Linked DNA regions of Homo sapiens: all the other regions are linked to region 4. The links are contacts of gene promoters, found by promoter capture Hi-C in blood cells and fetal thymus (Javierre and others, 2016). All regions are on one chromosome and are shown on one strand. Each heading gives the region's core, a stretch centred on a gene start or on the middle of the fragment in contact. The rest is flanking DNA. Distances are from core to core; before and after follow the strand shown. Region 1 overlaps PPM1E (protein phosphatase, Mg2+/Mn2+ dependent 1E). Region 2 overlaps TRIM37 (tripartite motif containing 37). Region 3 overlaps PPM1E (protein phosphatase, Mg2+/Mn2+ dependent 1E). Region 4 holds the start of SEPTIN4 (septin 4).

Evidence for each region. Contacts are between HindIII fragments. The CHiCAGO score rates a contact against its expected background, and 5 or more counts as called.
Region 1: a contact is called between a fragment that was not itself captured here and the fragment with the promoter of SEPTIN4 in region 4, in 7 of 17 cell types (naive CD4 T cells, total CD4 T cells, naive CD8 T cells and 4 more). The highest score is 7.8, in naive CD4 T cells.
Region 2: a contact is called between a fragment that was not itself captured here and the fragment with the promoter of SEPTIN4 in region 4, in 2 of 17 cell types (total CD4 T cells and total CD8 T cells). The highest score is 5.9, in total CD4 T cells.
Region 3: a contact is called between a fragment that was not itself captured here and the fragment with the promoter of SEPTIN4 in region 4, in 1 of 17 cell types (endothelial precursors). The highest score is 5.2, in endothelial precursors.

Annotation. Positions count from the first base shown.
Region 1 is chr17:58,983,350-58,986,676 of GRCh38, forward strand. It overlaps PPM1E (protein phosphatase, Mg2+/Mn2+ dependent 1E), which reads left to right. Exons shown (of 7, transcript NM_014906.5): 7 at 1-1,830. It also overlaps a transcript of TRIM37 not described here. Among named protein-coding and RNA genes, the nearest start is that of TRIM37, 120 kb to the right of the region's middle. The HindIII fragment of the contact is 225 bases long and covers 1,942-2,166 here.
Region 2 is chr17:59,033,663-59,036,806 of GRCh38, forward strand. All of the region lies in intron 17 of TRIM37 (tripartite motif containing 37), which reads right to left. Among named protein-coding and RNA genes, the nearest start is that of TRIM37, 72 kb to the right of the region's middle. The HindIII fragment of the contact is 4,005 bases long and covers 1-3,144 here.
Region 3 is chr17:58,946,129-58,949,414 of GRCh38, forward strand. The region is part of intron 1 of PPM1E (protein phosphatase, Mg2+/Mn2+ dependent 1E); the gene reads left to right. Among named protein-coding and RNA genes, the nearest start is that of TRIM37, 160 kb to the right of the region's middle. The HindIII fragment of the contact is 708 bases long and covers 1,556-2,263 here.
Region 4 is chr17:58,542,590-58,545,950 of GRCh38, forward strand. It overlaps SEPTIN4 (septin 4), which reads right to left and starts at 1,739. Exons shown (of 14, transcript NM_001368771.2): 1 at 37-1,739. The coding sequence starts at 1,597. It overlaps SEPTIN4-AS1 (SEPTIN4 antisense RNA 1), which reads left to right. Exons shown (of 5, transcript NR_110810.1): 3 at 868-1,009; 4 at 1,947-2,082. The HindIII fragment of the contact is 11,159 bases long and covers 1-3,361 here.

The DNA.
Region 1 (3,327 bases), core at 804-3,303, 440 kb after region 4:
TCTATAATACATACTAAAATAGTGGTTATTGGTCTGATATATGCTGCTCTTGGTTCTATAAACTAGATAAAAGCAGTGCTTTGTGAAATGCAGTGTTCTCTCTTAACGCCACTGGTGATAGGAAGTAGTTCCCTTCAGTTCAAATCCTGTGCCCTTATTTGCTGCTTGCTGACGTAAGCAATAAGTAACCCTCTAACTAATGGTATCTACATATTTCTGTAACTTGTATTTAATGATGGTGTACCTGGTGATTGTAAAAATATTAGACAGATATAAAAGTATCTATATAATATCTATAAACTGTTAATGCTGAGGTATAGTCTGTGAATTATGTGTTTTGTATTTTTATTCATTGTGTAATTTAGTGGTGGTGAAAGTTCTACACTCAATCCTTAAAGAGTGGCAGTATCCCTTTTTCAATTTAACATGGTCTGCATCAATCTGTTTGCCTGCTAAACAAGTTAGAATAGGAAATAGTAAAATAAATCCAAACAAGAGTGTAATATTGGTTAGGGAAACAAACTTCAGGTCACCAACTGAAGTCATTACAAACTCCTTGTACATTCACTGTGAGTTTCAAAGGGAGTCAGTCCCTAATTTACAGGTTTCCTTTGTTCACTTTCTAGATGTGTACTTTTGAGGGACATGAGGTTAGGCAACATTACAGCAACACACACTGGGGCTATTAATCCCATTTAGGTCTGTACTAAAGAGGATGGGTAGAAACACATATGTATATACCTTTTCTTTACCTAGAAGTGCCATCCATTGTCCTTGAATTATTATGATTAAAGTTACTGTTGCATTTAGGAGGCTCCTTGAAAGTAACACCTTTTCCAAGGACAATGGCAACAATGTCAATGTCAACACTGAGTCTAATTTTGACCACATTTATAGTGGTATAGTGTCAATACTGCATTTTCATGACAACCACACTCCACTGTTGAAACACTGTGCCAGTGAGAAGTGCAACATCCAGTGGGCAGATGAAAATGATGCATGGCCAAGTTCAGTGTTTACAGATAAAACTGCTGTGGTTCAAGTGCTTCCTTCCCCATCAAATCCTTGATAAGGCTTTGTGGGAAAATGATCTAAATTATTGTTTTAATTTTTAAACCTAATTTATTCACTCAGTGAACATTCTTACCTAAGCAAGGCTATAAAAGGGAATACTACAGTTTTGTCCACACTTTAATTTGAGACCATTTTTCTTTGAATCGTAAGTTAGCAAAAGAAATTTTTTTCACCTTTGAAAATCACGTGATGTTAAAGGACAAATGCCCACTCTTCTATTCTGATCTGCAAATAGCTTAAATGTCTCTTGCAAAACAAAGTAAGATACCACCAGTATTACAACACAATGATTTTCCAGACAAATGGTATGGTGTTGAAAAATAACTGTTACTTCTTAAAGCAGCATTTTATCTTCTATTTTGAAGACTATTTATTGTAATAATTAGAAAACATGAAATAGGGAACTCCAGACTGACACAGCAGTTGTTTTTGAAAAGGAAATAAACTTTGATGAATTAGATAATCCAGATACATCATTGTAAACTCTTACTCTAGGTGCTCTTTGGTGAGAGACAGGCTTTGTTCTCTTGTTCATAACATTTCTCTGCAAAGAATTCTCTATGGAGTGAAGCGAATGAAGTGAATAATTTCTTACCAAATAAATTTATCAATTTACAAATCTGCTCTACATCTCACTTTTGAGTTCAGTTGTAGTCATGAGTGATCCTTCATATTTTATTAAAAGTGTTCATTCAGGTAAGGTGTATGTTGAAATTTTGCCAATTATCTTAATAAAACCTGGCAATTTAAAAACCACTAGTCATTTGTCTTTTTATTTAAAGGAAAGGTAAGTTATTTACTGTTTAAATTTGTGCAGATTTCTTCAGAACTGGAAAATAAAATCCTGAGATGGACGTTAAGTTTGGAAGCTTGGAACATTTAAAAAGAAGATTTGCTAAATGCTGCTGTAACATTATTTTACCCCAGAAGAGAGGTATTTAGCCTTATACATGTTCTCTTCATTAGCTGAACTGCGAGGAGAGGGAGTGGTGTTATAATCCTAAAAGAAAAGAGGAACCCGACCTGCCAAGGACTAAGCGGTGGTCATCAAATCTCCCAACTACTTCATTCTTAGAACTCTGCATCTAACCAAGCTTTCCCCTTTCGCTTAGCCTCTTTGAGTTTCAAGCTAGAAGAAAGTAAGGAAATCATCAGATGAGCTGTGGTGGAAAGCCTCCCAAGGACTGCTGATAAGTGAGTAAAAGGAGACAGAGACAAAAAGGACAATGTGGGGGAGGGAAGTCACTTACGACACCTGCATCTGAAGGGAGGGAACTGACCTTCCAAACGAGTCAACCTTGTCAATACACTGCACTGTTCTCCTGCCTACCAGTAAAGAAGGCCTTTACAATTAATTTTACATAGTTTCAAAAATCTTCAACTCCTAATTCCCTAAATTCATTCAGTCCTTGGCATGACTTTATATAGAACCAAATGAACAATTGAGAAAAAAAAGGTGAAGTTTTGAAAGAAGGACATATTTGAAGGGGTTTACTGAAGCAGGGAATGACAGAAAAGGAACATTTTGATTAGTAAGTGTTACACTTGAAAAAATTCCCTAAAATATAGTATTACTTAGATCAAAAGGAACACCTCTTTCTGAAGGAGCAGCACACAGCAAGACAGAAGGGAACCACTAGGTACAGTAAAATCATTTGAACATCATAGAAATTTACCCAAGTTACCAAATTATCAGAAACAACTGTCTGTACTGACAAGCTGCATAACTGAGCATTCCCCCCCACACCCGCCCCCTGTTGCTGTCAGTGTGCATCATTTCCTTTCCTTCTTTTGAGATGGAGTTTCATTCTGTCACCCAGGCCGGAGTGCAGTGACGTGATCTTGGCTCACCACAACCTCTGCCTCCCAGGTTCAAGCGATTTTCCTGCCTCAATCTCCCAAGTAGCTGGGATTACAGGCGCCCGCCACCACACCCAGCTCATTTTATTATTATTAGTGGAGGTGGGGTTTCACCATGTTGGCCAGGCTGGTCTCGAACTCCTGACCTCAGATGATCCACCCTCCCACCTCGGCCTCCCTAAGTGCATCATTTTCTTTTTGATTGCAAGTTTCCATCTGTCTTTTTTTTTTTTTTTTTTCTTTTTTGAGACAAGAGTCCTGCTGTGTCACCCTGGCTGGAGTGCAGTGGTGCAATCTCGGCTCACTGCAACCTCTGCCTCCCAGGTTCAAGCAATTCTTGTGCCTCAGCCTCCCAGGATGCTGGGATTACAGGCGTCGGCCACCACGCCTGGC
Region 2 (3,144 bases), core at 351-2,850, 490 kb after region 4:
CTCAGCCTCCCAAAGTGCTGGGATTACAGGTGTGAGCCACCGCACCCAGCTGAAAACTGTTTTTACCTCTTTTCTTTTACTAAGGAATTCCCAAATTGGGTTGTATGTCAGTCAGCTGAAGGAGTTTTTAAAATTACATCCTAGATACACTGAACAAGAATACTGGGGTGAGAAGCTGGGTGCAGTGGCTCACGCCTGTTATCCCAGCACTTTGGGAGGCCAAGGTGTGCAGATCACCTGAGGTCAAGAGTTAGAGACCAGCCTTGCCAACATGGTGAAACCAAAATACAAAAGAATAGCCAGGTGTGGTGGCAGGCACCTGTAATCCCAGCTACTCGGGAGGCTGAGGCAGGAGAATTGCTTGAACCTGGGAGGCAGAGGTTACAGTGAGCCAAGATCACACCACTGCACTCTAGTCTGGTTGACAGAGTGAGACTCCATCTCAAAAAAAAAAAAAGGATACGGAGGTGAGATCCAGGACTTTTTCCCAAAAAGCTACTCAGATCGTTCTTATGTATAGTTAAGTCCAGTAGCCCAGTGAATGGAATCTATTGCCCTAATATCTGATTCTCCTTTAAAAATGTAAGTTGCTCATTCTTCCATGTTAAAGGCACTTACAGTAGAGAAAGCGGTGTCTCCTGTTTCTCACTGCTTTTTCAGGCCATTATTCTCACTACTGAACAAAAACTGCTTTTTTTTTTAATGTGGGTATGACCTTTGGCTACTCCCCTTTCAAATGTTCCCAGCTTTCTTTTCTTTTTTGTTTTTTTGAGACGGAGTCTTGCCTCCCAGGTTCAAGCAATTCTCCTGCCTCAGCCTCCCTAGTAGCTGGGATTACAGGCATGCAGCACCATGCCTGGCTAATTTTGTATTTTTAGTAGAGACGGGGTTTCTCCATGTTGGTTAGGCTGGCCTTAGAACTCCCGACCTCAGGTGATTGGCCCGCCTCAGCCTCCGAAAGTGCTGGGATTACAGGCAGGAGCCATGGTGCCCGGCCTATGTTCCCACCTTTCTACCCACTATCACATTTCCCCACAGGCATCAAAGACTTTGGGTTGGCACTGATTTCAGTTTCTCTCTTTCCAAGCTATTCTGTGTGTCTCATATATAAATGTACATCCCAATGAATGCTCACAAAGTGATCACACCCAGATGAAGAAATATATTATCAGTACCCCAGAACCCCCTCCTATGCCTCCTAAAATTGCTCACTACTCCTACTCTACAAAAATAACCTTCATCCTAACTTAAATTACAGATGGGTTTTGCCTGTTTTGTATTTGTATAAAAGTAGTAACAGAGTATGCTCTTATGCTCTTCTTCTTTGGTCAACATTATTCATGAGATTCATCTATATGGCTGTATATAGAAGTATCTTATTCATTTTCTTTTTAAATATTTTTCTTTTTTTCTTTGAGACAAAGTCTTGCTTTGTCACCCAGGCTGGAGTACAGTGGCACAATCTTGGCTCACCGCAACTTCCACCTCCCAGTTTCAAATGATTCTTGTGCCTCAGCCTCCCGAGTAGCTGGGGTTACAAGCGTGCGCCATTGCACCAAGCTAATTTTTTCTACTTTCAGTAGAAATGAGGTTTCGCCATGTTGGCCAGGCTGGTCTTGAACTCCTGGCCTCAAGTGATCCACATGCCTCAGCCTCCCAAAGTGCTGGGATTAGAGACATGAGCCACTGCCTCATTTTCATTATTATTGTGCAGCATCCATTTATGAATATATCCAATTTATTTCTTTATTCTATTGGAAAACAATTTGGGTTGCTTCTAGCTTTTGGCTATTAAGAATAAAGCTATACAGCCAGGCGCGGTGGTTCACGCCTGTAATCCCAGCACTTTCAGAGGCCGAGGCAGGTGGATTACGAGGTCAGGAGTTCAAGACCAGCCTGGCCACAATGGTGAAACCGTCTCTACTAAAAATACAAAAATTAGCTGGCCGTGGTGGAGGGCACCTGTAATCCCAGCTACTCGGGAGGCTGAGGCAGAATTGCTTGAACCCAGGAGGCAGAGGTTGCAGTGAGCTGAGATCGTGCCACTGCATTCCAGCTTGGGCAACAGAGCGAGATTCAAAAAAACAAAAAAACAAAAAACCAAAAAAACAAAAAAACAACAAAAACCATGCTTCTGAAGTTCACATAGAAAAAAAACCTCATAAAAAGACAGACGGATCGGTGACAGGTTCTTCTCCATTTGTGCCAAGCCATATGGATCTTGCTAAAATGTCACACTTATATACTTGAGTTCATTACAGCATACTGCCTGTATGCATTATCATGACACTCAAGGCCCTATTATAGTCTAGTCTCAAACTACCTTTCCAGAATATTCTACATTTTCACATCCTTCACTTTGTTACAAATTACATACCGATATTTACCATCACAAAATCTTGTAATGATCAGTGCTGGATTTTCATTTAAAAATTATGCTCATTCATTCTTCTAACATCTGTGGTCCAGGTGCAATAGCTCACGCCTATAATCCCAACACTTTGGGAGGCTGAGGCAGGAGGACTAATTGAGGCCAGGAGTTGGAGACCAGCCAGGGCAAGAGAGCAAGACTCCGTCTCTATAAAAAATTAGTTGGGCGTGGTAGCATCTGCAGACGTCTTCTTATGAGAACTGCTTTTAGTTTATTCAGTTATTTGAAGTTAAATGAAAGACAATTTATGTTAAAAAAAATTTGTGCTAAAAAGGTTTTAAGTATCATTCTAATCCAGATTATTGGCTCATTGAATCCAGTGAGTAGGAAAAATCTAGTTTGTATTTGCTGGGGGTGTGTGTGTGTGTGTGTGTGTGTGTGTGTGTGTGTGCACGCGTGTGTTTTAAGAGACAGGGTCTTGCTCTGTCACCCAGGCTGGAGTACGGTGGCAGAATCATGGCTCACTGTACCCTCGAACTCCTAGGCTCAAGTGATCCTACGGCCACAGTCTCCCAAGTAGCCAGGACTACAGCCAGTTGAGTCAATAAATATTTCTTGTTTCAAGCTATCTCCTTATTTAATATGGTCTATAAAATAAGATTATTAAGTAAACATTTAACTTTATACCTAGCTTTTATATAAGCCCAATCATCCCCTTTTTAACGCATAACTTAACATCGTAATTCTTTAGATCACATAACTCTTTAGACAAT
Region 3 (3,286 bases), core at 660-3,159, 400 kb after region 4:
CCAAAAGGCACTCATAGACTATACAGGAAATTCCAAGGGATTTAGAAGCTCTATGTCAGAAACCAGGTTCAAAGACTAAATATTAGAAGATGCTTCCAGTACCCCGTCACTCAGGAAATAAAAAGGGTTTTAGGGGCTCTGTGTCAGGAACCAAGGCGGAGGACAAATATTTATTTCCAATTATGTCACAGATGTTGCACATCTTTTCATGTGCTTATTGCCCATTTGTATATCTTCTTTGGAAAAAAGCCTTTGGGTTGTCTTTTTATTATTGAAATATAAGGATTCGTTACATATTTGGGATACCAGTCTCATTAGATATATGATTTGCAATTTTTTGTTTTGTTTTGAGACAGGGTCTCTCTGTCTCTCGGGCTGGAATATAACGATGATTATGGCTCACTGCAGCCTTGGACTCTGGGCTTAAAGCGATCTTCCTGCCTCAGCCTCCCAATTAGCTGGGACTACAGGTGTGCCCACCATACCCAGCTATTTTGTTGTTGTTTGTTTTGAGACAGGGTCTTGTTAAGTTGCCCAGGCTGATCTCAAACTCCTGGCCCCAACCTTACCCCCTTGCAAAGTACCAAAATTACAGACATAAGCCACTATGCCTGGCAGATTTGCAAATATTTTCTACCAGTCTATGGGTTGTCTTTTCACTTTACTGATTTGTGATACAAAAGTTTTAAATTTTGATGTAGTCCAATTTAATATTTTTTTTCTTTTCTGCTTGTGCTTTTGGTGTCAGAGCTAAGAAAACCATTGCCTAATCCAAGGTCATGAAGATTTACTCTTTTAGGAGTTTTCTTTTAGGAGTTTTATGAGTTTTAGCTTTACATTTAGGTCTGTGATGCATTTGGCATTAATTTTTGTATATGGTGTAAGGAAGGGGTCCAACTTGATTATTTTGCATGTGGATATCCAATTTTTCCAGCACCATTTGACCATTTTGTTAAACAGAAAGTTATTTTCCTTTTTCCTGTTTTTTTTTTTTTTTTTTTTTTTTTTTTAGACAGTCTTGCTCTGTTGCCCAGGCTTGAGTGTGATCTGCCCACCTCGGTCTCCCAAAGTGTTGGGATTACAAGTGTGAGCCACACTCCTGGCCTTTTTTTTTTTTTTTTTTTTTTTGAGACAGTCTTGCTTTATCACCCAGGCTGGAGTGCAGTGACGTGATCTCAGCTCACTGCAACCTCTGCCTCTTGGGTTCAGGCGATTCTCATGCCTCAGCCACCCAAGTAGCTGGGATTATAGGCGTGCACCACCACACCCAGCTAGTTTTTGTATTTTTGGTAGAGACAGGGTTTCACCATGTTAGCCAGGCTGGTCTTGAATTCCTGGTCTCAGGTGATCCACCCACCTTGGCCTCCCAAGGGGCTGGGATTACGGGTACGAGACACTGCACCTGGCCTTTTTTTTTTTTTTTTCACTTATTTGACCTCTCAGCAATTGACAGAGTTCACTGCTCCCTCCTTCAAATACTCTCTACTATCTCGGTTCTCCTTTTACAGATTTTGCCATTTCTCTTTAGTCTTCATAGGTCCCTTGTCTTCTACTAAGCTTCTAAATATTGGGTTTTCAGTTATTGTCACTGTATTGCAAATTACCACAAAACTTAGTGGCATAAAACAATTATTTATTATGCTCACAATGTCTTTCAGTCAGAAATTAAAACTGGGTAAAGCAAGGTCACCTTATCTCTGTTCCAACTGGGGTCTCTGTTGGAAGACTCAGGCTGGGGGACTGGAATCATCTGAAGGCTTGTGAACTTACATGTCAAGCAATTGATAATGGCTACTGCCTGGGAGACCTCAGGCTACATCCACATGAGCCTGTTCATGTGGTTTCTCCACATGGCTAGTTTGGGCTTCCTCATGGCTTGATGGCTTGGCTGAGTATGAAGAGCAAGTATCCAGAGGGAGACAGAGGAAGAAAGAAGAGGAAGCCGGGGGAAGCCACGTGGCCTTTTATGAACAAACTTCAAAAGTCACACAGTATCACTTTTGCTACATTTTTTTCATCCGAGTAGTCACCACACCTCACCCATGTTTAGATTAGGAAGGGAAACAGACTCTATTTTTTTATGGGGAATGGCAAAGTTCTAAAATAGCATGCGGGACCAGGAATGCTGTTGCGGCCTTTTTAAAAATAATCTGCCACAGTCTTTTCTGGCCACACAATTCACATCCTTCCCATGTGCTAAATGCACTCACCCAACATCCCCTAAGATTTCCCAAAGTCTAATCCCATTATGGTATTAGGCTGAAGCTTGAGGTCCAAGATTTCATTGAGGCCAAGACCATGGCAGATAAGATTTCTTATCTGGCAAGTAAGGTTTCTTCCTTTAAAAAAAAATTCTCCAATGAGAGTTTAATTTTTATGTTTATCAAAGTGTATACTATATTAGATCATTTGTGTACCAGTAGTTACACTGATAAGGCAATGAAAAAGAAAATGTTTAACGCTGGAGCCTTATGGTCACAGAAAGTTTTTAAAAATTTAATTTCAATTTTCATACATATTTTTACTGCAGAGACATATTATATACTGCTTTGGCTGAGTCCCATAGGTTTTGGTATGTTGTGTTTCTGTTTTCATTTGTTTCAAGGAATTAGTCAATTTCCTTCTTAATTTCTTTCTTCACCCATTGGTTGTTTAGGAGCATGTTGTGTAATTTCCATGTATTTGTGTAATTTTGAATGTTTCACTTGTTATTGGTTTCTAGTTTTATTCCATAGTCAGATAAGATACTTGATATGACTTCAATTAAAAAAATTTTTTTAGCCTTGTTCTGTGTCCTAACATGTAGTCAATTCTGGAGAATGTTCCATTTGCTAATAAAAAGAATGCATATTCTGCAGCTGTTGGGTGAAATGTTCTGTAAATGTCTGTTAGAGCTATGCTATGGTTTATCTGATGTTTCCTTGTTGATTTTCTGCCTAGATGATTTCTGCAATGCTGAGTTGGGTGTTGAAGTCCCCAGCTGTTATTGTATTGGCATCTGTCTCTTCCTTTAGATCTAATAGTATTTTCTTTATGAATCTGGGTGTGCTGGTCTTAGGTGCATGTATATTTACAATTGTTATAGCTTCTTGAATTGTTTCCTTAATTACTATATAATGTCCTTCTTTGTCTCTTTTTATAGCTTTCGACTTAAAGTCTGTTTTAGCTGATATAAATATAGCTTTTCCTGCTTGCTTTTGGTTTCCATTTGCGTGGAATATCTCTTTCCATCCCTTCACTTTCAGTCTGTGTATATCCTTATAGATGAGGTGAGTTTCTTGTAGAC
Region 4 (3,361 bases), core at 489-2,988:
TGGGGCTGCACCTGGGCAGTCTGCTTCTTCACATACCCAGGAAGAAAGCAGTAAACCTTTGAATGGGTTGTTTGCAGGTGTGCTTGGGGGTCTGTGGCACTTCACTCAGTGGTGCCCAACTTGGAAACTCCTTTGGTGGTGATGGTGGTGATAGGCTTGCCTTCTCTCTCTGGAACTTCAGATCCTCACAGAAAGGGCTAGAGTCTATTTTAAAACCGGACAATAAAAGATCTAGGGAAGGAGAGCACTTAGGCTCAAAATCCGGTGTTGTCAGCTGGCTTTGGGGTGTTTCAACTTCAGGATTCAGCAAGGGCCACCATGAGGAGTCAGGTCCGTACCTAGGTAAGGACCGAGGAGGCAAGGGCCTAGGGGTCAGTTCCAGTTCTGCATGGATGGAGGGCTTTTGCGAGAGTTCTGGATACCTGGGTGTAGGTCCTTGGGACATGTAAGTAATTTCTGGGGGTTTTTGGGTTTGCTGTTTATAGATGGGCTCTGGAGTAACAAACATGGATGACTTGTGGGAGCCCTCAGACACTGATGGAACTGTCACATGGTGAGTTGGCTCTACTGACTGTACCCCTGGGGAGATGGTGACCCTGCGGCCAACCTCGCTGTTTCCTCGGATTGGGGTCCTCACGTTGGACTCCACCTGTGATGATACTAAGACCTTTGCGGAGGGCTTGGTTTCAGGATAGGCAGAATACTTATGAAGAGACTCAGGGTCTACCCGTGCAGAAACTCGGTGTACACCATCAGAATCTTTAAGGACAGAGAGTTTGAGCAATGAGTCCAAGTTCATATTCCTATACAAGGCCTTGGGTTTTGAAGGAATTGGACCGTAAGGACCTGTTTCTGATTCTTCTACAGGGACCCTTCTCTGGGCTGTCTGATAGTCTGCAGAGACACAGCTGCTTCCGTGCTCTAGGAGAGAGGGACTCCTTGGAGATCTGATCTCACTAGTAGTCGTAATTCTTTGGATGGGCTCAGTTTGTACTGCTTCATCCTTTGGGTAAGACAAAATCCTACGGGGAACTCTGACTCCTTGGGGGTTCTGGACCTTGGATGGTGGGTCATCTTCTAAGATTTGTGATTGTAAGTTATTCTTCTGGTCTTGAAAACTCAACTGATGAGTAGATTTGGCATCTGGGATTGATGAAGCATGATGGCCGACCTCGCGCCCTGACTTGCTCTCACTGCCTCTTCGTGCTGCTTCCTCTCTGGGTGGACTAACTTTCCATTGTCTGCTTGAAGCATGGGAAGCCAGTGTCTGAGTCTTCTGGCTCTTTAGATGGGGAGAGGAATGGCGGGATGATTCTGTTCTTGGTCCAGTCTCGGGTCCCCGAGGAGTGGGTACTGCATAGTGTCCAGGTCCTGACTGGAGGGAGACAGATCGAGGGTAGTCTGATGCTGAATGGGGAGTGGTGGGATGTGCAGCTTCTGATCTTCGGTGGGAAGGGTTCAGGGAGACTGCAGCACTTCGATGGCTTGAGGCAAGAACGTACCCATGTCCCTGCTGAGGGGATGTGTTAGTAGTAACCTCAGACCCTCTCTGTGCTGAAACCGCTACCTTGGCCCCAGGTTTATTTGTCTTGACCATCTGATAGATTGTGCCCTTCTGAGTAGATCCCGTATTTTACTGGCTGGCTTGTATTCAGGATCCTAATGATGCCTGAATATTTACCCTGTTTTAAAGCTGCTGTTTCTTGGGCTCCCACAAAAGTGGCTGTTGTTCTAAGAGTGTCTCAAATAATCCCCTTAGCTACCTCTCTGTCTGGTGATGTCATAAAGGAAGGAGCTTCCTTCCTATTAAACATCCTAGTGTACAGCCACAATTCTTCACAGAATCCCAAAGAAGTACCTGAAAGGAATCTGTGGATTTGTCTTTGGAGTTATATCACCAAGCCTTTGGCAAGTTTTTAACAAAACTGGGATTTCCTTGTACATAGAGAAGGCTCCAGACCCTCCTTTACTCTCCCGAGATTCTAGAAATTCTCAGGACTCATCCAGAGAAGGAATCAGCCAGAAGATCCTATGAAGACAAGATCAAACCAAACACGCTGTGTTCGCCCCAGTTTTAATAAGGTACGAAGTACAAAGTTGCCCCAATTTTGTTTGAAACTGTACTGTATACAAGTTAAAAAAAAAAAAAAAAAGAGAGCTTCAGCTTTTTCCAGGTCTCATGGATTGTTTCATTGCTCCTGGGGTAAAAATCCAGGTTGCTCAAATAATAAAATTCTCACATTCTTGCTCCAGGAGAGTTTAGTGTTTTATTAATAAAAGGGATTTGCCATGTGCGGTGGCTCACGCCTGTAATCCCAGCACTTTGGGAGACCGAGGCGGGTGGATTGCCTGAGGTCAGGAGTTTGAGGCCAGCATGGCCAGCATGATAAAACCCCGTCTTTACTAAAAATACAAAAAAATTAGCCAGGCATAGTGGCAGGCACCTATAATCCCAGCTACTCAGGAGGCTGAGGCAGGAGAATCGCTTGAACCCGGGAGTTGGAGGTTGCAGTGAGCTGAGATTGTGCCACTTTACTCCAGCCTGGGTGACAAGAGCAAAACTCCATCTCAAAAAATATATATAAATAAAAACAAAATAAAAGGGATTTGGGCTGGGTGCAGTGGCTCACACCTGTAATCCCAGCACTTTGGGAGGCTGAGGCGGGTGGATCACCTGAGGTCAGGAGTTTGAGACCAGCCTGGCCAACATGGTGAAACCCCATCTCTACTAAAAATACAAATATTAGCCAGGCGTGGTGGTGCGTGCCTGTAATCCCAGCTACCCGTGAGGCTGAGGCACGAGAATCGCTGGAACCTGGGAGGCGGAGGCTGCAGTGAGCTGAGATCGTGCCACTGCACTCCAGGCTGGGTGACAGAGCAAGACTCCATCTCAAAAAAAAAAAAAAAAAAGAAAGAAAGAAAGAAAGAAGGAATTTGGAGTTAATCATTGGTTTCCATCATAAATGACTACAGGTGTACCTAGGAGAAATTACCTGCCTTCCCTGGGACTTGGTTTCTTCACCTGGAAACCACTGCCTGGTACATGGGTGTCACACAACAAATGTTAATGTCCTTTCTCATGATCCTGTCAGCTATCCAATCAGCCGGACTCCGGTTCTCTCTTGAAAAGTGACTTTCCAATTTGGATGACCATTTTGGAGGAGACTCTGTCACCTTTCTCTCCCTTTCACATGCTCTTTCTCTCATTCTCTCTTTTAGACATAGACTCTACCATATCCAAAATTCTATTATGAACTCTGAAGGGTCATTGAGATTATAGGATGGTCAGCTTCATTTTTCTTTTTTTTTTTTTATTTGAGATGGAGTTTCAAATAAACTGTGCCCAGGCTGTTGCCCAGGC